Regions from separate parts of the Homo sapiens genome. Here all the other regions are linked to region 1. The links are contacts of gene promoters, found by promoter capture Hi-C in human tissues and cell types (Jung and others, 2019). All regions are on one chromosome and are shown on one strand. The core of a region is centred on a gene start or on the middle of the fragment in contact, and the rest is flanking DNA. Distances in the headings are between cores, read along the strand shown. Region 1 holds the start of CKAP5 (cytoskeleton associated protein 5). Region 2 overlaps MADD (MAP kinase activating death domain). Region 3 has its middle 8.4 kb from the start of PACSIN3. Region 4 overlaps CSTPP1 (centriolar satellite-associated tubulin polyglutamylase complex regulator 1). Region 5 overlaps AMBRA1 (autophagy and beclin 1 regulator 1). Region 6 overlaps CSTPP1 (centriolar satellite-associated tubulin polyglutamylase complex regulator 1).

Evidence for each region. The method cuts DNA at HindIII sites, captures the fragments that hold promoters and counts their contacts. A contact is called where the count stands out against the background at its distance.
Region 2: a fragment that was not itself captured here is called in contact with the fragment with the promoter of CKAP5 in region 1 in 1 of the 25 tissues and cell types used here (dorsolateral prefrontal cortex).
Region 3: a fragment that was not itself captured here is called in contact with the fragment with the promoter of CKAP5 in region 1 in 1 of the 25 tissues and cell types used here (aorta).
Region 4: a contact is called between a fragment that was not itself captured here and the fragment with the promoter of CKAP5 in region 1, in 4 of the 25 tissues and cell types used here (IMR-90 fibroblasts, adrenal gland, dorsolateral prefrontal cortex and 1 more).
Region 5: a contact is called between a fragment that was not itself captured here and the fragment with the promoter of CKAP5 in region 1, in 1 of the 25 tissues and cell types used here (dorsolateral prefrontal cortex).
Region 6: a contact is called between a fragment that was not itself captured here and the fragment with the promoter of CKAP5 in region 1, in 1 of the 25 tissues and cell types used here (heart right ventricle).

The regions. Positions count from the first base shown.
Region 1 is chr11:46,844,058-46,848,061 of GRCh38, forward strand. CKAP5 (cytoskeleton associated protein 5) reads right to left here and starts at 2,223. Exons shown (of 44, transcript NM_001008938.4): 1 at 2,163-2,223. LRP4-AS1 (LRP4 antisense RNA 1) reads left to right here and starts at 2,354. Exons shown (of 3, transcript NR_038909.1): 1 at 2,354-2,442; 2 at 2,553-2,660. RefSeq lists enhancers at 1-407, 1,466-2,043, 2,498-2,617 and silencers at 1,878-2,027, 2,208-2,287. The HindIII fragment of the contact is 16,643 bases long and covers 1-4,004 here.
Region 2 is chr11:47,302,958-47,306,961 of GRCh38, forward strand. All of the region lies in intron 24 of MADD (MAP kinase activating death domain), which reads left to right. Among named protein-coding and RNA genes, the nearest start is that of MADD-AS1, 33 kb to the left of the region's middle. The HindIII fragment of the contact is 7,250 bases long and covers 1-4,004 here.
Region 3 is chr11:47,192,782-47,196,785 of GRCh38, forward strand. No RefSeq gene overlaps it. Among named protein-coding and RNA genes, the nearest start is that of PACSIN3, 8.4 kb to the left of the region's middle. The HindIII fragment of the contact is 8,886 bases long and covers 1-4,004 here.
Region 4 is chr11:47,148,765-47,152,768 of GRCh38, forward strand. All of the region lies in intron 4 of CSTPP1 (centriolar satellite-associated tubulin polyglutamylase complex regulator 1), which reads left to right. Among named protein-coding and RNA genes, the nearest start is that of ARFGAP2, 26 kb to the right of the region's middle. The HindIII fragment of the contact is 3,742 bases long and covers 274-4,004 here.
Region 5 is chr11:46,560,213-46,564,216 of GRCh38, forward strand. All of the region lies in intron 1 of AMBRA1 (autophagy and beclin 1 regulator 1), which reads right to left. Among named protein-coding and RNA genes, the nearest start is that of AMBRA1, 32 kb to the right of the region's middle. The HindIII fragment of the contact is 4,353 bases long and covers 1-4,004 here.
Region 6 is chr11:47,107,483-47,111,486 of GRCh38, forward strand. The region is part of intron 3 of CSTPP1 (centriolar satellite-associated tubulin polyglutamylase complex regulator 1); the gene reads left to right. Among named protein-coding and RNA genes, the nearest start is that of ARFGAP2, 67 kb to the right of the region's middle. The HindIII fragment of the contact is 6,222 bases long and covers 1-4,004 here.

The DNA of each region.
Region 1 (4,004 bases), core at 973-3,472:
TAAAAATACAAAAAATTAGCTGGGCATTGTGGTGCACACAAGAAGTCCCAGCTACTTGGGAGGCTGAGGTGGCAGAATCGCTTGAACCCAGGAGGCAGAGGTTGCAGTCAGCTGAGATCGCACCACTGCACTCTAGCCTGGGCGAAAGAGCAAGACTCTGTCTTAAAAAAAAAAAAAAAGGAAAAGAAAGTGAGTGTTGATGGAATTAAGATAAAAGTTTACAGGAGAGTTGGTATATTCAAACACACTTCATATGAGAGCATAAGAGCTCCACACCCTTCTCCCATACCTACAAGCCCTACGCCTCTCTTCATCTGTATGCTTTGTAGCATCCTTTACAATAAACCGTGAAGGTAAAAAACAAACAAACAAACAAACAAAAAACACCAAAAAAACAGGTGCTGCTAAAACTGAACTGTCAGTAGTAGAAGACTGCGATGGAATTACCACACCCACTGTTCATAATTCAAACATAATTCAAAACTGATCAAGACTTTAAAGTAATGGAGAATAAAGTAAAAGGCATGTTAATTGTTACGGAATACCTTTGCTTGCCATTGCCTCAGTGAACAGCCTTTTAAAAAATTTTTTTTCTTTTTTTTGAGACAGAGGGTCGCTCTGTCACCCAGGCTAGAGTGCAATGGCGGGATCTTGGCTCACTGCAACCTCTGTCTCCCGGGTTCAAATGATTCTCTTGCCTCGGCCTCCCGAGTAGCTAGGATTACAGGCGCCCGCCATCACGCCCAGCCATTTTTTGTATTTTTAGTAGAGAGAGAGAGAGAGAGACGGGGTTTCACCATGTTGGCCCGACTGGTCTCAAACTCCTGACCTCGTGATCCGCCCGCCTCGGCCTCCCAAAGTGTTGGGATTACAGGCGTCAGCCACCGCGCCCAGCCTAAAATCTTATTTAAAAATTTTTTTACATGAGTTTACCAACTAGATTTAACTTATGGTTGCAAAATAAATTGATTTCACCTTTATCTATATCATTAAATTTGGTAAAAGCATTACAGTTTGTCCAGTCACTTCAGAGAAGTCAAAGTCTTCTACAATTTCTTAAAGTTTCAAAAGATTCTTAGCTTAATTTATTGGCTCTTTAGGTCAAAAGAAGGACTTTTCAGGGTGATGAAAATGGAGGAAGGAGGAGCTCACCTTTCTAAAAATGAGTTTTCAATTACTATAATTATGCATAAGACAGGCAGCATTTCTGGGCCAAGATTTGATGCCTTGGTCCCATGAGAATTAAATTAGAGCCACGCATAAATTTGGGGCAAGTTCTGCAAAAACCACTTCAACCTCTATTGATGCTGAATAAAAAACTCATTGTTAAGATTCATCAACACGAATATATTTTCTAACACACACTAGCCACTCTGGCAACAACCCTTTCATCATTTTCTATCCAAGAAACACAACGGAATGCATTTCAATCCTGCTCAACAATTACCACGATTACAAGTAGAGGGGAGAGCTCAAAAGTAAGAATCTAGTTCACCGAGCCCGACCTTAAAGTAGCAAGGCCCAACCCACACTGCTGGCTATTGTATTGGTTCCCCAACACCTCCAGGGCTGGAAGGACACCAGAACGCTCCCGACACGTTGAGAGAGAGAAAGCCAGTCGTTAAGGGCGGGGTGGTGGATGATCGGAATCGTTCACATCGCAGCAAGCCAGCAGGGACACAGGTGTGCGGCCAGGCCCCGGTGCCGCTGTCCTTGCTCCAGGGCGACAAGGCCCTTCGCAACCACCACAGCCCTCGTAGGCGCTTACTTATTCATTCACTTGACAATTACGCGAGAGGCACTCTAGCAGGGCCGGCTCTCGGGGCCCCCGCCCTAGTCTTGGTAAATCGCTGCCGCCAGGCGCGGCCCTGCACCGCCCGCGCCCCGCGGACGCTGCCACCCGCGCCACGCTGCGGCGCGCTCTGGCCACCTGGAGCCCAACCCCGGCCTCCGCCGCACACGAGCGCCCACGCCCCCGGCCCTGCCCGCCGCAGGTCCCCCGGCCTCCGGCTCGCTTCGCCGCCTCAGACCTGCCGGGTTCGTGGGGCAAGTGGGGCGCGCGTCTGGAGACCTCCAGCCGCCCAGGATTCAGGGGCTCCTCTGCGCGCGCGATGCCTGCACTCGAGGGCCTCGCGGGTGGGGCAGGCCCACCGACCACTCACCTCAGCTGGGTCAGAACCAAGCGGCCTGCTCTAAGCCGTTTGAAACCGCTTGGGCCGCCGCACACCCCGCAGTGTCCTCGTTCTTTATTGGTCCTCGACGGACCGCCCATCGGACTTTTATTGGTCCATTTGAAAGGCCTGTGGGCACGCGCCGCCCGCAGCCTTAAAGGGGCCGCGCGCAGCCGTGTTTCCCTCTGGACCAGACGCCGCCTGCACGGGTGGGGACGCTGGTCGCTGCCGGGGGCAAGTCTGCCGACTCCAGAAAGAAAGGCGAAAGAATGTGTGTAGACCCGGGCATCCTTGGTCGTCAGCATGTTTGCTTTATTTAATTACAGATGTTCAGGCTGCTGTCAACACCCGACAATTTTTTTTGGTCATTTCATTCCCTAGAGATTGTGAAGCTAAGTGCTGTGAGGGAAACCAGAGGCAGCTGAGATGTCGTGGAAGTAACAGCGAATGAAGCCAGGATGCTGGATTCTGACCTTGGAACTGTTCTGAGTAAATCACTTTTCTCAGTAAATCTTCTGGAGTTGTTTCCTTATCTGTAAAATGGGATAACGATGTTTCCCTTACAATTTAATGGAGGAGTTAATATAACTAATAGAATGTCTGAGAAAAGCCTTTGTGAACTGTAACGCATCCTGCAAATGCTTAATATTCCCTTATAAAAACGAGAGGCTTGGTTAACATGATCTCCAGAATTTTAGCTTAGCTCTACATTCAGTGTTTCTGTGAATGAGTTCAGGTCCTTACTTCCAAGGAATTTGTAATCTACAGTGGTTGGAGGAATATAACATACAGACTAGTCACTAAAATTCAAAGCAGTGTAATAACTGTATAAATGAAAAGCTATAAATGCTTAGAGACAGGAGAAATTTGATGGGGGAGGATCTGTGAGGAAGATGAATTTTTAACCTAGGATTTAAAGAATGTGTAGATTCCCAACAGGCTAAAAGATGGAGAGAGGATGGATAAAAGTAAATGAAACAATTACATGTTTTTTCATTGTCAAGTTGGCAGAGATGAAAAAGTTCAACAGCCTTTGGTTGGTCAAGATTTGGAAAAACAGGCTGGGTGCAATGGCTTATGCCTGTAATCCTAGCGCTTTGGGAGGCCGAGGCAGGAGGATTGCTTGAGGCCAGGAGTTCAAGACCAACCTGGGTCTTGCTATCAAGACCCCATCTCTGTTTTTAAAAATATAAAGAGATTTGGAAAAATGGACACTCAAAGTCAATATTGGTAAGAGTATAATTGGTACAAACCTTTAGGAGGACAATTTGACAGTTACTAAAATGTACATAATCTAGTTCTGGCCCAGTAATCCACTATGAGGAATTTATCGTACAGATCTGTGCAAGTATGCAAAGAAAAATGTACAAGGATGTTTACTGCAATACTGCTTTTTTTTTTTTTTTTTTTGAGACAGTCTCGCTCTGTCGCCCAGGCTGGAGTGCAGTGGCGCAATCTCAGCTCACTGCAACCTCCGCCTCCCGTGTTCAAGCGATTCTCCTGCCTCAGCCTCCTGAGTAGCTGGGACTACAGGCACGTGCCATCACACCTGGCTAATTTTTTGTAGTTTTAGTAGAGACGGAGTTGCACTGTGTTAGCCAGGCTGGTCTTGATCTGCTGACCTCGTGATCCTCCCGCCTGGGCCTCCCAAAGTGCTGGGATTACAGGCGTGAGCCACTGCACCCGGCTTTTTTTTTTTTTTTTTCTGACAGAGTCTCTCTCATGTCACCCGGGCTGTAGTGCAATGGCGTGATCTTGGCTCACTGCAACCTCCATCTCCCGGGTTCAAGCAATTCTCCTGCCTCAGGCTCCCAAGTAGCTGGGATTACAGGC
Region 2 (4,004 bases), core at 608-3,107, 460 kb after region 1:
AATTATCATCTTTTTACTTCCAGATGTAGGACTCCCTTGAGCATGTCTTGTAAGGGTGTGATGACTTCCTCATTTTTTTTTTCATGTCTGGGAAAGACTTAGTTTATCCTTCATTTCTGAAGCACAACTTTGCTGGGTATAGTATTCTTGACTGAGATTCTTTTTCTTGCAGCGCTTTGAATATATCATCCCATTCTCTACTGGCTTGTAAAGTTTCTGCAGAGAAATCTGTTAGTTTAATAGAGATTCCCTTAAATGTGACTTAACACTTTTCTCTTGCTGTTTTTTTTTTTTTTTTTTTTGAGACGGAGTCTCACTCTGTCACCCAGGCTGGAGTACAGTGGTGCAATCTCGGCTCACTGCAAGCTCCGCCTCCTGGGTTCACACCATTCTACCTCAGCCTCCTGAGTAGCTAGGACTAAGGTGCCTGCTACCATGCCTGGCTAATTTTTATGTATTTTTAGTAGAGACGGGGTTTCACCATGTTAGCCAGGATGGTCTCGATCTCCTGACCTCGTGATCTGCCTGCCTCGGCCTCCCAAAGTGCTGGGATTACAGGCGTGAGCCACTGCACCCGGCCTTCTCTGGCTGTTTTTAGAATTCTCTCTTTGACTTTTGACAATTTGACTGTAATGTACCTTGGAGAGGCCTTTTTTTTTTTTTTTTTTGAGACAGTCTCACTCTGTCACCCAGGCTGGAGTGTAGTAGTGTGATCTCAGCTCACTGCAACCTGCGCCGCTTGGGTTCAAGCTTTTCTCCTGCCTCAGCTTCCTGAGTAGCTGGGATTACAGGCATGCACCACCACGCTCGGCTAATTTTTTTGTATTTTTAGTAGAGATAGGATTTCACCGTGTTGGTCAGGCTGGTCTCGAACTCCTGACTTCAAATGATCTGCCCGCCTTGGCCTCCCAAAGTGCTGGGATTACAGGCGTGAGCCACCGCATCTGGCTGGAGAGGACTTTTTTGGGTTGAATCTGTTTGGGGACTTTTGAGCTTCCTGGATCTGGCTGTCCATCTCTCTCCCCAGACTTGGGAAGTTTTCAGCTATTATTTCATTAAATAAGTTTTTTATGCCTTTCCCCTTCTCTCTTTGGAAATCCAATAATATGAATATTTGTTTACTTAATGAGATCCCCTAAGTGTTGTAGACCTTCTTGACTGTTTTCCATTCTAACTTTTTTCCCTCTGACTAATTTCGAATGACTTATCTTCAAATATAGAGTCATTCTTCTGCTTGATCAAGTCTGCTGTTGTAGTTCTCTATTGTATTTTTTCCTTTTTTTTTTTTTTGAGACGGAGTTTCGCTCTTGTTGCCTAGGCTGGAATGCAATGGCACTATCTCGGCTCACCGCAACCTCTGACTCGTGGGTTAAAGCAATTCTCCTGCCTCAGCCTCCCAAGTAGCTGGGATTACAGGCATGCGCCACCACACCTGGCTAATTTTGTATTTTTTAATAGGGACGGGGTTTCTCCATGTTGCTTCGGCTGGCCTTGAGCTCCCAACCTCAGGCGATCCACCCACCTCACCTCCCAAAGTGTTGGGATTACAGGTGTGAGCCCCCACGCCTGGCCCTCTATTGTATTTTTTAAACTTTGTTCATTGAATTATTCAGCTGCAAGATTTCTGTTTTTTTGTTATGATTTTTATCTCTTTGTTGAATTTCTAATTCATATCATGAACTGTTCTTCTGATTTTGTTGAATCATCTATCTGTATTTTCTTGTATCTCATTGCATTTCCTTAAGATCATTACTTTTAATTTATTTTCTGGCAATTAATTGATTTCCTTTTCATTGGGGTCTATTACCAAAGAGTTATTATGTTCCTGTGGTGGAGTCATATGTCCTTGTTTTTTTCATGTTTCTTATGTCTCTGTGTTGATACCCCACATCTGGCAGAACAGTCACTTCTTCCAAACTCTCTGGAGTGGCTTTCATAGAGAAAGACTTTCACATGCAGTTGGGTTTTAGTGTGCCAGTTGGGAAGGGTATGGCAACTCTGTTTCTGGATAGATGTAGTGGTATGTTTTCTGTGTAGCTTCTTCAGCTGCATTCAACATGAGCAATAACTATGGGTGCCTCAAGAGTCCTAGGCTATAGAAGTGTGGCAGTGGCAGTGGTGGTATATGTTGTTAATATCCTTGGTGTCAAGGAGTTTTGGAGTCCTCCTATTCTCATTTTCCTCACAATGGAGTGACTCAGCCAAGAGAATCCCTCTTGGTGTCAGGTCTGACTGACATGGCCTACAAGCAGCTGCAGAGGCACTGGGTTCCAGGTACAGATGCGTGGAGTAGCTGTGGAGTCAGGTTTCCAGGCTTAGGGTCTCACAAACCTATTGTGGCACCTGGGTATTGGGGTACAGATTTGCTCTCTGTGGCAAGGTTGGATGTAGGTTGCCCACAGAGCCAGGATCTGAGGCACCCGCTAGCAGCTCAGGCCCAGGGGACTGGCTCATAACTGTGATTCTAATACTGGGGGATAGGCCATAGCACTGGCCTTACTCTGTGGAAGAAGGGGTGCTCTGGAGGTTTGGGCCTAGGGAGCAGGGTACAGCTGCAATTCAGGGATCTGAGCCAATAGGGCTCAGTGGCAGCTCAGGTCCCACGGAATGAGGCACCATGTAGTAGTGACTCTAGACTCCAGGATGGTGGGGCTTGGCTGTATCCTAGACTCTGTGAAGCCAAGTGCAATGGCAGCGAATACCCCAGCGTGGCAGAGCACAGCTGTCATTTGGGCCCTGGGGGTCAGGGAGCAGCACAGCAATGACTCCACTCCCCAGGAAGAGGGTATCTTAGCAGCTCAGACTCTAGGGGCAAGTCCAGTTCCAGGGAAGCAGGGTACTGGAGTTGTTTGGCTAGGGCAAGGTATCTCAGCTCAGCCACTGCTCTGTTTCCTGGGACATGGGGTACTGTGTCAGCTCAGCCCTGGAATGCGTAGCTGCTCAGCTTGGCCAGCCACCAATTCCCCTGGGGACAATGTGCTGCTTTAGCACAGGCCTAGTGTGGGCATGACTGTTCTGGGTGACCCAGGCACAGTATCATTGGAATGCAGGGTGCCGCTTCAAGTTAGGTGCTAGGATGCATGACTGCCCTGGGTGGCCAAGGCACCATTTCCTGGGATACAGATTGCTTCTTCACCTTAGGCACCAGGGAGGCCTGACTGCTCTGAGCAGTCTAAGTACTGTTTTCATAGTGGATAGGGTACTGCTTCAGCTGCAGCCCAAGGGGAGTGGGGAGGGGTAGGTGGAGTGGCTCTGCCTCCACTTGGCCCCTTGGGGAATCATGTAATAGCTGCTCACAGCTTGGCTTAGATTGTCAAGACATCAGGCTAGAGTGGTTTGTTGGTGGCTTAGCCTCAGGAATGAAGGGGAGCTGTGGCCATCTGTCCCCAGAGCAAAACACAATCCCACTGTAGCTCCACTTCCAAGATGGCATAGCACAGTAGCTGCACAGGCCACAGGGGCTGGCGCATAGTATTGGCTCCTTCTCTGGAGGGAGCACAGCTGTATGGACTCCAGGCAGCTCCTTCAGCTGGGCTTAGTGCCTAGAGGACTGTAGGGAAGCCAGTGGTGAAGTCTGTAGGTGTCCAAGGTGCTGGTGGCAGTTTCTAGAATTGTCTTGCTTACTTCCTTGCTGTGGGGAGAAGTTCCTCCTTGTTCCCAGCTGATCCTAGATGGGGGAAGGGGGATGGGGGGGAGGCCTGATATTGCCATCTGTTCTCTATGTGGCCATCCTGAGTTTCTGTGCTCATCAGCATTCCTGTCACCCTTCTGATACACCCCCACAGTCTCCCTCAGTTATTTTTGTTAAAAGTATAGCTGTTTATTACTCTACCTCTCTTTGTGAGGGGGATGTGCTTTAGGGGCTGCTCGGCCATCTTGCTGACATTACTCCCCTAGGCTGTTTTTTTTTGTTGTAACTTTTTAAAAATGTTTATTTATTTACTTTTGAGACAAGGTCTTGCTCTGGTGCCCAGACTGCAGTGCAGGGTGCAGTCATGGCTTGG
Region 3 (4,004 bases), core at 514-3,013, 350 kb after region 1:
AATTAGCCAGGCGTGGTGGCGGGCGCCTGTAGTCCCAGCTACTTGGGAGGCTGAGGCAGGAGAATGGGGTGAACCCAGGAGGCGGAGCTTGCAGTGAGCCGAGATAGCGCCACTGCACTCCAGCCTGGGCGACAGAGCGAGACTCCGTCTCAAAAAAAAAAAAAAAAAAGGTATTCTTAGGTGAGCAGCCCTTGCTGCTGCTCTGCCTGTGGAGTAGCTTTTTTTTTTTTTTTGAGACAGAGTCTTATTCTGTCACCCAGGCTGGAGTGCAGTGGTGCGACCTCAGCTCACTGCAACCTCTGCCTTCTGGGTTCAAGCGATCCTCCTGCCTCAGCCACCAAAGTAGTTGAGATTACAGGTGTGCACCACCATGCCTGGCTAATTTTTGTATTTTTGTAGAGACGGGTTATTGCCATGTTGGCCAGGCTGGTCTCAAACTCCTGACCTCAGGTGATCCACTTGCCTCAGCCTCCCAAAGTGCTGAGATTACAGGCATAAGCCACCGTTCCTGGCCAGAGTAGCCATGCTTTATTCCTTTGCTTTCTTAATAAACTTGCTCTCACTTTATTCTATGGATTCGCCTCAAATTCTCTTTCACCAGACCCAAGAACCCTCTCCTGGGGTCTGGATCAGGACACCTTTCTGGTAACAGAAGCAGATGGAAGATGAAGCTGGAAAGATAGGTTGGGATTGGATGGTGAAGATTTGCAAAGTGGGCTAGGGAATTTGGACGCTACCCTATAGGCAGTGGGAAGTGTCCATGAGAGTAGGTAGATCAGATTTCCCCTTTTATTTTATTTATTTATTTTTTTGAGACAGAGTCTCGCTCTGTCGCCCAGGCTGGAGTGCAGTGGTGCAATCTTGGCTCACTGTAACCTCCGCCTCCCGGGTTCAAGCAATTCTCCTGCCTCAGCCTCCCAAGTAGCTGGGATTACAGATGCCTGCTACCATGGCTAATTTTTGTATTTTTAGTAGAGACGGGGTTTCATCATCTTGGCCAGGCTGGTCTTGAACTCCTGACCTCGTGATCCACCTGCCTTGGCCTCCCAAAGTGCTGGGATTACAGGCATGAGCCACGGCGCCCAGCCAGATTTCCCCTTTTTAATGATAACTCTGGCCACCCTGCCGAGAGTAGATCAGAGCCGGCTAAGTGCTGCAGGCAGGGCTGTCTCCTCTGAAGGCTGCTTTGTGAGTTTCCCTCCGTGGCCTCTGGACATTGCCCCAGGATTCCTGACAGGCAGCTGAGTAAAGTATTCTAATTTCACAGCTATGTTTTTCAGAGCTCAGGCAGTCCCGTGTAAAGACTGGTCCCAGTTATTGAGAGCAGTTAACCTCAGTGGGGCAGGCTGTTTATAGGTTACCAAGGCAGACCGATGGCACTCGGGTGAAAATGAATCGCAGGTTTCAACAGTGCAGCCTATAGAGAAAGTTTCTCCAGGGTCAGGAAGTTACCCTATTAAAAAAAAAAAAAATGATGTTACCCTATATAGTCTAAAAAGGGGAGGAACCGGTAGTTCCGGGAATCTGCCATTGCCCCAGGCAGATTCTTTAGCTGGTCCCCGCCTCAGCAGGAGACGCCCCAGGAGTTGCCATTGTGTACTCCGGGTTTCAGCTCTGTTGGCCGGGAGGCTCCTGCTCCAGAAGCCTACCCTGGTGCACTTGGGCACCCATTGTGTGACCAACACCAGGCTGGGTGCTCAGTCCTTAATTCGAAGAAAGCAGGCCAGGTGCGGTGGCTCACGCCTGTAATCCAAGCATTTTGGGAGGCCGAGGAGGGTGGATCACTTGAGGTCAAGAGTTCAAGACCAGCCTGACCAACATGGTGAAACCCTGTCTCTACTAAAAATACAAAAATTAACCGGGCATAGTGGCGCACGCCTGTAGTCCCTGCTACTCAGGAGACTGAGGCAGGAGAATTGCTTGAACCGGGGAGGCAGAGGTTGCAGTGAGCTGAGATGGCGCCACTACACTCCAGCCTGGGTGACAGAGCGAGACTCCGTCTCAAGACAAAAAAAGAAAGCAGACAAGATGTCTACTTCATGGAATTTTCCACTGAAATCAAATAAAGGTCCAAAAACATCATTACCAATTGTCATGAGTGTTTGAAGGAAAAAAAAAAGGGACAGTGTGCTGGAAGAGGATAGTGGGAGTGTGGCTTCAGGGAGTTTAAGCCTCCACCCAAAAAGACCCAGAAGACAAATGGAAGTTAAGAAGGTGAAGAGGGGACCTAGGGAACGGCATTCCAGGCGGAACAACTGAAGACTGATGTATGAAAAGGTCCTTACATGAGAACTTGACCTTCCAGGTCAGAAGGGTGGAGTGGGCAGGGCACGGTGAATGAGCGGGTGAGAGGCCTAGAATGAGGTGGGAGAGGCAGGCAGCACCCAGACACTACCAGGCTTTGTGAGTTCTGTTCCGAGTGCAAGAGGGGGCCCTTGGAGGGATTTAAGCAGAGGAGGGAACTGAATGGCCTTTTTGGATGTTGCATGAGGAATGGATTAGAGCAAGGAATTAGCAAACCATGGCCTATATGGCCCACAGCTAAGACTGGTTTTTACTTTTTTTCTTTTTTTTTTACTTTTATTTATTATTATTATTATTATTTTATTATACTTTAAGTTCTAGGGTACATGTGCACAACGTGCAGGTTTGTTACATATGTATATATGTGCCATGTTGGTGTGCTGCACCCTTTCTTTTTTTTCTACAGAGACAAGGTCTCCCTGTGTTCCTCAGGCTGGTCTTGAACTCCTGGGCTCAAGTGATCCTCCTGCCTTGGCTCCCCAAAGTGTTGGGATTTCAGGCGTGAGCCATTGCACTGGGCCGGTTTTTACCGTTTTAAATTGATGAAAAAAATAATAAAAAGAAGACTATTTTGTGACGCACAAAGGTTATAGGAAATTCAAATTTTGGCATCTACAAATAAAGTTGGATTGGAACACAGCCACACTCATTTATTTATAAATTGCCTTTGGCTGTTTTCACACCACAATGGTAGAGTTAGTACCGTAGGTGCGACAGAAATCATATGGCTCAGACAGCCTAAAATATTTACTATCTGCCCCTTACACAAAAACTGGCCTGACTCATGGATTAGAAAGAGAGAAAAAGCAGGGAAATCCAATTAAGAAGTATCTGCGGTAGATGGTACGGGGTCAGATGACCACAGAAGATGAACAGGGTGGCAGCCATGGAGGTATGAGATATGCATGGGGCCGGGCAAGGTGGCTCATGCCTGTAATCTCAGCACTTTGGGAGGCCAAGGAGGGCGGATCACCTGAGGTCAGGAGTTTGACACCAGCCTGACCAACATGGTGAAACCCCGTCTCTACTAAAAATAAAAAAATTAGCCTGTAATCCCAACACTTTGGGAGGCCGAGGTGGCTGGATCACCTGAGGTCGGGTGTAATCCCAGCTACTCAGGAGGCTGAGGCAGGAGAATCACTTGAACCGGGGAGGCGGAGGTTGCAGTGAGCTGAGATTGCACCGTTGCACACCAGCCTGGGCGACAAAGCAAGACTCTGTCTCAAAAAACAAACAAACAAACAAAAAAAATCATCACTCATGTCAGAACACAGGCAAAAATATGAACATGGTCCAAAACACAAAAATGACCAAATATCTCCCTATTTTAGCCAATGTGATTCACTGCAGCTGCTTTGCCAATCACAACTTTAGTTTTGCTTCTTTCCTCCCACCTTATAGATAACATTAATTAAGGTACAGGATGCGGGAGGACAAAAAAACTTCCTTTTACCCTCTTAGGTTCTGTAGCTGAGTGTAAGAATTAAACTGGCTGGGCCAGGCACGGTGGCTCATGCTTGTAATCCCAGCACTTTGGGAGGCTGAGGCGGGTGGATCACCTGAGGTCAGGAGTTCGAGACCAGCCTGGCCAACATCGTGAAAACAAAAATTAGCCAGGCGTGGTGGGGCGTGCCTGTAATTCCAGCTACTCAGGAGGTGGAGACAGGAGTATTGCTCGAACCCAGGAGGCGGAGGTTGCA
Region 4 (4,004 bases), core at 895-3,394, 300 kb after region 1:
AAGAATCCTGGGAAACAGGAACTATGATTATATCCTCTTCACAGATGAGGAAACTGAGGCTCAGAGGGAAATTGTCACTTGGCCAGTGAGTAGTGGAACTAGGACTTAATCCTGGGGTCAACTAATCCAGAACTTCAGGAAAACCGGTGCAGCCCGTGCCACTAGACCAGGGAAACTGACCCTAATTAGGGGTGAATAGGAAGTTGGCAAGTCAGTAGGTTCAGGCTGGAAGCTGTTGCTTCCTTGGCACCCTTAGAACTCCCAGCCAGACTGCCTATCCCAGCTGCTGGAAGTCAGCAGGGGAGGGAGAAAGTGGCCAGTCTCTCAGACCAGCCACGTGCTCTTTCTCCACTCCAGTTGCCTGTCCTAGGCTCCACCCCACACATGGTTCTGCTCAGCACAGCCTGAACCAAAGTGCCTCTACTTCTCCCCAAGAGTCCCTCTCTCTAGCCCGGAGGCATGGTCCGCAAGGGTCCCTCCATGATCCAATAGATTTGTGCAGACTCTCACTGGCAGCAGCTCCCTGTTGGCTCCACTTCAAAGCAGGGGCGGCCGGGCACCTCCAGGTGTCAGAAGCAGCTGGCACGTTAGCAGAAGGCCTCTGGCAGGAAGGGGTGTTGAGCCAACTGCCAGCAACTGGAAAACAGCACATGGGGATGACCTCGTCTCCAAGAAGATTCTTTCCCGAGCCCTCTGGGAGTGGCAATGAGCTTGAGTTCAGAAGGAAGGAGCTGTCTGTGGGGATAGAAGGGTTGCAGGCAAAGGCAAAGAGGCAAAGACAGACCAGGAGCTTCCTGCTTGCCTTTTCCCATAGTTCTGCTGAGATTCCAAAGCAAGATGCAGATGCCCACAGCCAGAAAGATCCCATAGGTGGGTTAAAGACACAGATGCCTAGAACTTTCATGGTCTCAGCATTCATTTGGAGACAGACAGCACAGCATATGATGTGATTAAAAGCACCTTTCAGTAAGTCTTCTGCAGCCATAGACCTCTGAACATCAAACTGTCCCCCCACTAGATTTAACACTAACAGGAGGAGCTGTTAGTTCTGTCCACCCTTGGGACAACACTGTCAGAGCTGGAAGAAGCCCTTTGGGAAGTATGAGCCTTCAAACTTCTGCTTGAACATTTCTGGCAATACACATCTCATTCCTTTACAAATCAGCCACAATCCTAGAACTAAGCAGCTTGAAAATGTCTCTAGAGCCAAACTCTAGATCCCCGTGGCATCTCCCCAAGAGGCAGTCCTTTGAGAGTTGGGTCTCAGCCTTCACTTCCTCCCTAGTCTTCACTTCTAAGCAAAAGATCTAAATGCAGCCATTTATCCAGTATCCTGGTTTTTAGACTGTCCATCAGCCTGACCCTCTTCTCCAGGACTCTAGTTTACTCCCCTTAAACGGACTGTCCAGACCTGAAGGTAGTAGTATTTGAATGACAGCTCTTTTGCTCCTAGCTTGTAACCTTCGCCAAGTTTCTTAATCCCTCTGAATGTCTGCATTCTCCATAAAGATTGTAAGTATCTTTATGAGAGGGATTAAGAAACTGCTCCAGGTGCCACCTGGCCAGAGGAAAAGGGGACCGTGGCTTCTCTCACTCATTTGTTCATGCATTTCTTCATTCAACAGACGTTGACTGAGTGCCTACTATGTGCCAGACACCATACCAGAGTCAAGCCACAAGCAGGGAGACAGAGGTGTCACTTGGTAGATCTTATGTTCCCAGGACAAAGACAACAGTGTGAGGAGGTTTCCGAGAACTGCAGAAGCCAGTAGCAGGGGGGCCTATTCTAGGCTGGGTTAGAAAAGGTGCTTTCCTCTTTCATCTTCCCCAAGAGATGCTGTGGAGGCTTCAGCCTGAAGAATATGGAGATATCCGGTAGGTGAGGAGGAGGCATGGAGGGCAGGGAGCATCATGGGTAGAAGGGACAGGGAGCATTATGGCTAGAGGGACAGACTTGTCTGGAGGGCATGAGTAAGGACAGCTTCAGGGAGGATGGAAGGACTAGTGTGGCCAGAATGCAGTGGGGGAGTCGAGGGAGGCAGGGGGCAGATGGAGCGGGCTCACAGGCCAGATCCAAATGGGGGAACGTGTCCTAAGGGCAATGGGAAGACTGTGAAGGTTTTTTTTTTTTTTTTTTTTTGACATGGAGTCTTGCTCTGTCATCCAGGCTGGAGTGCAGTGGCACAAGCTTGGCTCACTGACATGGCCACCTCCCAGGTTCAAGCGATTCTCCAGCCTCAGCCTCTTGAGTAGCTGGGATTACAGGCATGAGCCACTGTGCCCGGCCTCTGTGAAGGGTTTCCAACACAATGGTAAAATGGTCACATTCACATTTTAGGAAAATCTTTCTGCCCACAGGATGGATACTCAATTAGAAGAAGGCTCACGCCTGTAATCCCAACACTTTGGGAGGCCTAGGTGGGCAGCTCATGAGGTCAAGAGATCAAGACCATCCTGGCCAACATGGTGAAACCCCGTCTCTACTAAAATACAAAAATTAGCTGGACATGCTGGCGCACGCCTGTAGTCCCAGTACTACTCGGGAGGCTGAGGCAGGAGAATCGCTTGAACCTAGGGGGCGGAGGTTGCAGTGAGCCACTGCACTTCAGCCTGGTGACAGAGTGAGACTCCATCTCAAAAAAAAAAAAGCAAGAGGAGTAGTTGCAGGGAAACTGGGTAGGAGGTCATGCCATCATCAAGAAAAGAGAGGTGAAGGCTGGGGGTAGGATGGTGGCTGTGGACGTGGAAAGAAGTAGATGGATTCAAGAGAAATTTCAGCAATAGCATTGATAGGACTTGGTGACTGGTTGATTGGCTTGGAGCAGAGGGTGGCGGGGGGAAGTTTCCAGGATGTCTAGTATGCCCAGCGTTTCTGGTTGAGGAGAGTCATAGCCGGTGTTGCTGTTAACACAAGCTCGGATCCATTTGGCTTTTTAAAAGGTAGCCAGTCTTACTTCTTGCAGTTGAAAAAAAACCCTCAGTCCTTTATACATGTGCTGCTGGGATCCAGCCACATGTCCCCCAGAAAGAAAGCCCTCGCCTCTGTCTGCACCCGCTTCACTCGCCCCCTACTCCCTCCTGCTCGGCATATGTTTCAGCTCCCCAGTCTCTGAGACTCAGACTCTTCACCTGTAGAATGGAAATAACAATAAGACCCACCCGTAGGACTGTTGTAGAATAAAATTTAATTAATGTAGTCAAATGCCTTAATAGCCTGCCATGAGGTAGGGTACTCAGGAAAGATACCTGCCTCTATAGGCGGATCACTTGAGGTCAAGAGTTCGAGACCAGCCTGGCCAACATGGTGAAACCCTGTCTCTACTAAAAATACAAAAATTAGCCGGGCATGGTGACAGGCACCTGTAATCCCAGCTGCTAGGGAGGCTGAGGCAGGAGAATCACCTGAACCTAGGAGGCGGAGGTTGCAGTGAGCCGATCTGCACCACTGCACTCCAGCCTGGGCAACAGAGCAAGACTCAAAAAAAAAAAAAATGCCTCTATTGTTACCCGTATTAAGGGCACCTGCAGGGCTGCCCTGCTCTGACGGACACTCCTACCCTCCCACGGTGTGCGCCCCCTCTTCTGCAACGGCCCATCTCCAAAGGGACTGCTGATGTTTGAGGTCAAGATGGCCCCTAGCAGAAAGCTGCAGACCACTTCTGAGGCTGGAAGGGTGTGCCCTGTTTATAGCTTCTAGTCCCATCTGTGGCTGAAAGAGGAAGATGCTAGTGGCACTCAGCATTAAGGCTTCCGCGAGGCTGCGAGGCAGGGGTAGCCCTTTGGGAAGTACGAGCTCAAGCTTCTGCTCCGAGGCAGGCTCTGGAATGGGCCTATTGGTGAGAATTGCAAATGGAGGTAACTTCTGTAATTAGACAGTGGTGATGGTGGCGCTACTTTGTGAATATACTAAAAAACTGAATTGTACGCTTTTAAAGGGTGACTTTTATGGTGTGTCATTATATCACAATGTAAATAAATAGCAAGTGGAAGTTGCTGCTATGGGA
Region 5 (4,004 bases), core at 828-3,327, 280 kb before region 1:
CTGCACCTCTACTGCACACAGGCAGCAGCATTAGTTTTTTATATATAAACTCAAAATAAGACCGACCTCTGTATAGGATATATCACAAATGGGCTAACAATTTTACAAAATGTTTTGAAGATACAAAACTGAGTAAATTCTAATTACTGTAACTATAATAAGGGGGGAGAAGTGAAGCACCAGCTTTCCTGCTACAGATTTTGCTTACTAGAGCTTTCTAAAGTAACTCACAATGATGCTGCCTAATGTCTGAAACACGGGAAAGCTTGTGCTCAAAACAAAGTGTGATCAAAACCGGAAATAGAAAGCAATAAGACCCAAATTTGAGACTGACAATTTTCCTTACTCCCACTTACCTCAGAAGGATGAAGAAAAAAGAAACGGAAGTTTTATCTGCAAATTATTCTGGAGAAAACAGTGTGCTGAGAACACAAGAACTCCTAAAAACGGAAGGAAGAACAAGGAGGAAAGCACTAAACCAAGAAGAAACTGAAGCTCAATTTTTTGGTTTCAAGCTATCAAAAGAATCAAGAAGACCAAGAAGGCTACTCTTAAATGTACAGAAATGGCAAAAGATTTCCTATTAGCAAGCAACAAAAAAAGAGTAGCTTCTGATGGAAGAAATTTCAGAGGCAAAACAGCTTAACCCCAGAAACGGAAACTGAAACCAGCTGCCTCAAACAGACCTAATGACTTTGGCAACAATATACCTTTCATCCACCAACAATATCAGGAGGCTGGAGTAGGGCCGATTTCAAATCATAAAGGATCACATCTTTCTATTCTCTGCATAGTCTTTGAGAAAGAATCCAACTCCTTCCTGGGAGCACCACATTGCCCCCAATTCTTCCTGGAAACCCCTGGAGCTACAGCAAGAATATTGTTGGGCCAGGCGCAGTAGCTCACACCTGTAATCCCAGCACTTTAAGAGGCCAAGGCAGGTGGATCACCTGAGGTCAGGAGTTCGAGACTAGCCTGGCCAACACGGTGAAACCCTGTCTCTACTAAAAATACAAAAATTAGCTGGGCGTGGTGTCACGCGCCTGTAATCCCAGCTACTCGGAAGGCTGAGGCAGGAGAATCGCTTGAACCTAGGAGGTGGAAGTTGCAGTGAGCCGAGATCATGCCATTGCACTCCAGCCTAGGTAACAAAGTGAGACTCCATCTCAAAAAAAAAAGGAAAGAATATTGTCAGAAAAAAAAAAAAGCTTTGAGAACATTAACCCAGGAATCTTCACAAGTCCTAGGACAGATGTGATTACTCATCAGACAAATAAGAAAAACAAAACCTGGAAGAGGTTAAGAAATTCATCTAGATTCACAGATGAGTCTGGAGCCAAAGCAGGATTTGAATTCAGGCTTTTCCTTCAGATAGTACCAGAGCTACACTCCCAGTCCTTGCTTGGCTTAGTAGATACTGTGTTCAGTGTTTTCCAATCTTATAGTCAGCCCAGGTCAGGTTCTTGGCTGACTAAAATAGGGAAAGAAAAAATTTCCCTCGAGGCTTCAAGAAAAGAAGTCAAATTATTAAACACAGAGTTCTTATGCTAAAAGGCCGACATGCCACCCTACCATGCCAATCACATTTCTTAGCCAATCAAAAGAAGGCATTAGATTTAAGAACCTAGTTATTTAAATCTGAGTAGAAGCTGGATTCCATTTCCCCAACTTTCCAAATAAAGAACACTTAAAGATGGGGAAGGATGTAAAAGCACTGATAAATAACCAACAAGCATTGATTAAGCAGGTATTATGTTGGCACTGTTCTAGGCACTGAGGATACTATAGTAAAGAAGAACATTCTTGCCCCCCAAAAGCTTATGTGATTTTTATATAATTAAATATTAACAATACTTTCAAGTACTGAAAAAGGCTAGAAAGAAAATATGGCAGGTGAAAGAAAACAACACACCCTTTTACCTGGGGTGGCCAGAGAAAGCCTCTCTGAGATGACATTTGAGTTAAGACTGGCATCTTGAAATAGAAACCTTGAGAAAAGAGGCAGGTGAAAAAAATATTTCAAGGAGGATGAGGAGTACCAAGTACTAAGGTCCCTAACAGGTAAGCTTAGCGCATGTGAAGGCCGGAAATAAGGCCAACATGGCTGGAGCACCACTAACAAGGAAGAGAATAAAGACAGGTTGGTACTAGCAGACCATGATAAAATTTGGATTTTATTAAGTGTAATGGGTTACTATTAGAGGATTTTAGCTAAGGAAATGACAAGATGATGGGAATTTGGGCCAGGGTTATAGCAATATAAGAGATGAATAGTCATACTCAGAATATATTTTGGAGAAACAGCTAAGGGAATTACAGATGCATTGTATTTGAGGTGTGAGAGAGAAATGAAGAGTGATTCCTAAGTTTTGGGCCTAAGTCCCAAGTGGATAGTGGAGACACTTATTGAGAAGGGTTCTACTATATGTGTTATGTTTGCGGGTGGGGGAGCAGATTAAAGGGATAAATCAATAGTTTAGGATCACTTTCTATTTTTCTATGAATATGAGCCTGAGAAAATATGAATTCAAGAGAAACTTAAATTTTTCCTATAAATTAATAGTATAATAAATATAATGCAACATTGGTTCTTTTTTTTTTTTTTGAGAAGGAGTTTCACTCTTGTTGCCCACGCTGGAGTGCAATGGCATGATCTCGACTCACTGCAATCTCCGCCTCCCAGGTTCAAGCGATTCTTCTACCTCAGCCTCCTGAGTAGCTGGGATTACAGGCACATGCCACCACACCTAATTTTTTATATTTTTAGTGGAAACAGGGTTTCACCATGTTAGCCAAGCTGGTCTCAAACTCCTGACCTCAGGTGATCTGCCTGCCTTGCCATCCCAATGTGCTGAAACTACCGTGCCTGGCCTGCTTCCTATTCTTAAATAATTATACATAACATTTGAGAGTCAAGCAAGGTAGATCACACCTGTAACCCAGCTAACTCAGGAGGCTAATGGAGGAGAACTGCTTGAGGCCAGGAGTTCAAGACCAGCCTGCAACATAGAGAACATAGACCTCATCTCTTTTTTTTGTTTGTTTTTGTCAACCAGGCTGAAGTGTAGTGGCAGGATCTCAACTGAACTGCAGACTTGACTTCCCAGGAGTAAGTGATCTTCCCATCTCGGCCTCCCCAGAAGCTGGGACTACAGGTGTATATAACTACGCCCCAGTAATTTTCTTTATTTTTTGTAGAGACAAGGTTTCACTATGTGCCCAGGCTGTTCTCAAACTCCTGGGCTCAAGGAATCCTCCCACCTCAGCCTCCCAAAGTGCTGGGATTACAGGCATGAGCCACACGGCACCCTGATGAGAAACCTCATTTCTTTAAAAGAAACCATCAGCCAGGTGCAGTGGCTCATGCCTGTAATTCCAGAACTTTAGGAAACAGAGGCGGCCAGATCACTTGAAGTCAGGAGTTTGAGACCAGCCTGGCCAATGTAGTGAAACCCCGTCTCTACTAAAAATATGAAAATTAGCTGGGTATAGTGGTGCACACCTGTAATCCCAGCAACTCGGGAGGCCGAGACAGGAGAATTCACTTGAACCTAGGAGACGGTAGTTGCAGTGAGCCAAGATCACACCACTGTACTCCAGGCTAGTCTGGCAACAAAGCGAGACTGTCTCAAAAAAAAAAAAAAAAAAAAGGCCAGGCGTGGTGGCTCACATCTGTAATCTCAGCACTTTGGGAGGCTGGGGTGTGTGGATCACCTGAAGTCAGGAGTTTGAGACCAGCCTGACCAACATGGAGAAACCCCGTCTCTACTAAAAATACAAAATTAGCCAGGCATGGTGGCGCATGCCTGTAATCCCAACTACTTGGGAGGCTGAGGCAGGAGAATCGCTTCAACCCAGGAGGCAGAGGTTGCAGTGAGCCGAGATGGCGCCATTGCACTCCACTCTGGGCAACAAGAGCAAAACTCCGTCTCAAAAAAAAAAAAAAAAAAAACGTAAGAGCAATCTTAAAGCCTTCTTAAGTACATGGCAGAAAAATCCCAGTA
Region 6 (4,004 bases), core at 808-3,307, 260 kb after region 1:
TGTCTTTTGAGCTACCTGAACCTAATGAATGCAGTCCACTCTATCTCAGGGAGTTGTTTTGCTTTGGTTTTTTGCCTCTATTTGGCACCAGTTTCCTGTTTGGACAGTATTGCCTTTTATTTTCATGGTTTTTTTTCAAGGAGTTTGTCCAGGAGAGAAGGAGACATCCACCTGAAACCTACTCTGTGAAGCAAATGAATATGTTTTTTCTATTAGAAGATTCTCCTAAAATGTTCTGAAGTTTGTTCATATCTGGGAATTGAAGCACATTGAATTAAGAAAGAATTACTTCCTCCACCTCCACCCCTGCAATAGAGATTTATACTGGACAAGGTGGCAAAAAAAAATTAGGGGGAAACTGCTCGGTACAATTCCCCCCCAGTTCCCTTGGGGCAGCAGCGTGCTGCACATGAGGAATCACTGTACCTTGTTCCCCTGGCAGTGATACTTCTCTGTGGCCAGGCAAATACAGTAGTCCAGGCCTTCCACAACTTCTGCATGTGCGCATGTGCGCACACACACACAGACGCTCAAAACCATACCCCTCCTGGGCATCCCCTTAATAGAGGCATCCAGTATATTGCAAAGGTACTCATCACTATACACAGTGCAAATACTCAGCACTCGTTTATAGCAAACCCAGTATGAATAATTAGCAATAGTTTGGGATCTGGCACAACCCTTAATTACCACAACTAGAGGCCAGAAAATGAAATCAGGGTCATATATCTGAGGTTAGAACTCTAGAATCTGTCTGGCATCCTATAGCCCAAAGCACCACAGGGAGGTACACCTTGGAGCAATGGGAGCACTGTCATCCAGGAGACACTGTCCCCTCACTTTCCTCCAAAACCAGCACAGCTGTTTGCACGAGGGCTATCTGCCGTATATACAGTGAGACTAAGATATATATACACACCCTGGCGCTTCGCCTGATTTCTTCTGTGAAGTCCATCTGTTTATCCAGTTCCAGATCCCAAAAGGCAGTCACCAAAAACTAAATAGTGAGAAGGGACAGGCTTTTTTTTTTCTTTTTTGATAAACATGTTACAGTGAACAAAACAGATTTTGCAAACACATTCCATCTAGTAAATCTTACCTCACAGCTGTGTGAGAAGAGCTTGGAGGAGAGAAGGATGGGGAGCAGGAGGGTCTCAGGACTTGATTGGAGAATTAGAAAGTTCAGAAACCCACAAGGGTGGGACAGTTCAGTACTATCTACTTTTTTTTTTTTTTTTTTTTGAGATGGAGTCTCACTGCGTCGCCCAGGCTGGAGTACAGTGGCACAATCTCAGCTCACTGCAACCTCGGCCTCTTGGGTTCAAGCGATTCTCTTACCTCAGCCTCCTGAGTAACTGGGATTACAGGCGCCGGCCACCATGCCTGACTAATTTTTGTATTTTTAGTAGAGACAGGGTTTCACCATGTTGGTCAGGCTTGTCTTGAACTCCTGACCTCAAGTGATTCGCCCACCTCACCCTCCCAAAGTGCTGGGATTACAGGCGTGAGCCACCGCCCCTAGCCTATCTACTTCTTATAGGGTGATAATTGGCCTTTTCCCTTCATTCTAGCCCCTCATCCTAAACCTGGAATCTGTGATGGGCTCACCAAAAATGAAGATCTGGCTGCAGACTTTGGCTTCTTTCACTGAAAAGCTGATCTAGCCAGACTTTATCTTCAAAAGACAGGCCCTGCACTTCTGATGTTCCCTGAGCCTCTCCCACTGAGCCTACTCTCGTCCACTGTAGCCATGATGCTCTCTGGATTCAGACAATGGTGTGTTGTCCCAGAACACTGTATCTGGCCTGTCTGTGCTTCACATCTACCCCTTTGGCTAGGAAAATGAGGGACAGAGCTCACATCAGTAACTTGGATTCTGAGGACCGAGGACAAGCAGAAGAAATTGACCTTTTGCCTCAGAGGTGGCTGGATGTTTGTGTGTCTCTCTTCGATGTCAAATTGGCTCACTGAACCACTCAAGAGTTGTTTTTTAAAAATGTTCTGCTCACTCCTCATTTGCGGGTCAGATGCTTTGGATAATCCAGTGGAATTCTCTCTGCTTCACTGCTGGTTGCTGCCAGACACAGAGTGCTAAATCCTGTCAGTCGGTGACTTGAAATGATGATGTGTGAAACAGTGCTGCGATTTGGACATCCTGCACTCATTTGCATGGACTCCTTTGCCAGTTAACCACAGTAGTGAAATGGGGCAGCCTGGGGCAGCTTCCACAGCCCTTGCCTTATCTTTCCTCAGTGTCCCCACCCTCCCCCATGGCAGTATGTAGCTCCAGTAATTGGTAAGGCTTGGAATTCTGTTTCATTTAATATTATTCCCTTCCTAGGCATCATAGAGCAATTTCTTTAACATGCTAGATTGCAACATGCCAGAGACAGAGAAATAGCATTTGTGTGCAGAATGGAGAGGCGGGAAGCAAAACACTCTTGTTGCTGATTCCCATCTCCCGGTCTTTGCCCTTCCTTCTTTCCCTAGATTGCATGGCTGGCTGATTCTCATCTGGTGAGTTCTCAGCTCAAATGGTACGTTCTCAAAGATGAGCCTGGCACAGCCATCTCATGTGGTCCCACCCTCAGTCACTGTGTATCACACCACCCTGCCTGATTTATGTCATTGCTCTCCTCACTTCCTAAAAGTATTTCTTTCTTTGTTACTTTTTATTCTCTGTCTCCCCAACCACTGCCTCCACACATACACACTAGAATGTAAGTACCATGAAAATAGGGATTTTTATCTGTCTTATCCCTTGCTGTTTCCCCAGAATCTAGCACAGTCCCTGGCATACCTTTGACACTTAGTATATTGACTAAATAAGTAGCTAAGAATGTAGCAATTAAGAACTTCTAAAGCAAATATCCATGGTTACTATCAGGAAATAGTAAAGGCAGACAGACAGAGAGTTTGAGGAATGGAATGAGAAGACATGATTTCTTATACTGATTTTAATAATGGTCTTAATTACAAATTGAATACGTTAAGTCAAAGATCACAATATCGAGTCGCTCTTCATTTCTTCTGACTCAGACTAAACTGCCCCTTATTGAGTAGGTTAGGTCAGGGTCATAGAGACCAAGTACTACAAACTTCCTGGCCAAACTGGCATAATTGATGCCACAAAGTATGCCCACTTCCAGATTTCCACTGGGTGGTGCCTGGCTTTGCTTTCCTTAGGGCAGTTGCCAGAAGAAACTGGCACAATTTAAAGCAGTTTAAAGCCCAGCCTGGGTATCTTCATCTAGCCTTTATTATATTCTTGCCTGCCTCCAGTTCCCAAAAAGACTGCATTCCTGTCTGCAACTCCAGGGCCCTGAAGCCCCTTCAGTCATGAAAGCCATGGAGGTGGGTTAGCCCTGATCCACCCAGCGTGAGACAGTATGACCAAGAGAACACATCTTTTTTTTTTTTTTTTTGAGACAGAGTCTAGCTCTGCCGCCCAGGCTGGAGTGCAGTGGCGCAATCACGGCTCACTGCAAGCTCCGCCTCCCGGGTTCACGCCATTCTCCTGCCTCAGCCTCCCGAGTAGCTGGGACTACAGGCGCCCGTCACCACTCCTGGCTAATTTTTTTGTATTTTTTTAGTAGAGACGGGGTTTTACTGTGTTAGCCAGGATGGTCTCGATCTCCTGACCTCGTGATCTGTCCGCCTCGGCCTGAGAACACATCTTTAGTCCAGCAGATACATGGCACTCATCTCCTCAAGAGTCCTTCACCCAAACGAGAATTATTAGCTTCTCAGAAGTTATCCTTTGTCTTGTTGGGGCAAGATCTGTGCCTAGTGTCAAGAGAGAGATGTTAAAGATTAAAGAGCCTCCACCAGGAAAGGGAATGGTTTTGCCTGAATCTCTTAATTTGTTTTTCCCCGCTACGAGTGCATTCATGTTGCTGGGCTCCCTGGCTTACTCCCCGGTGGTTTGTAGTCATTTTCATCATGACTTTGCGGTTGCATTGATATCAGAATGAGTTTCGACTGCTGTACGTGATGCTTCCATG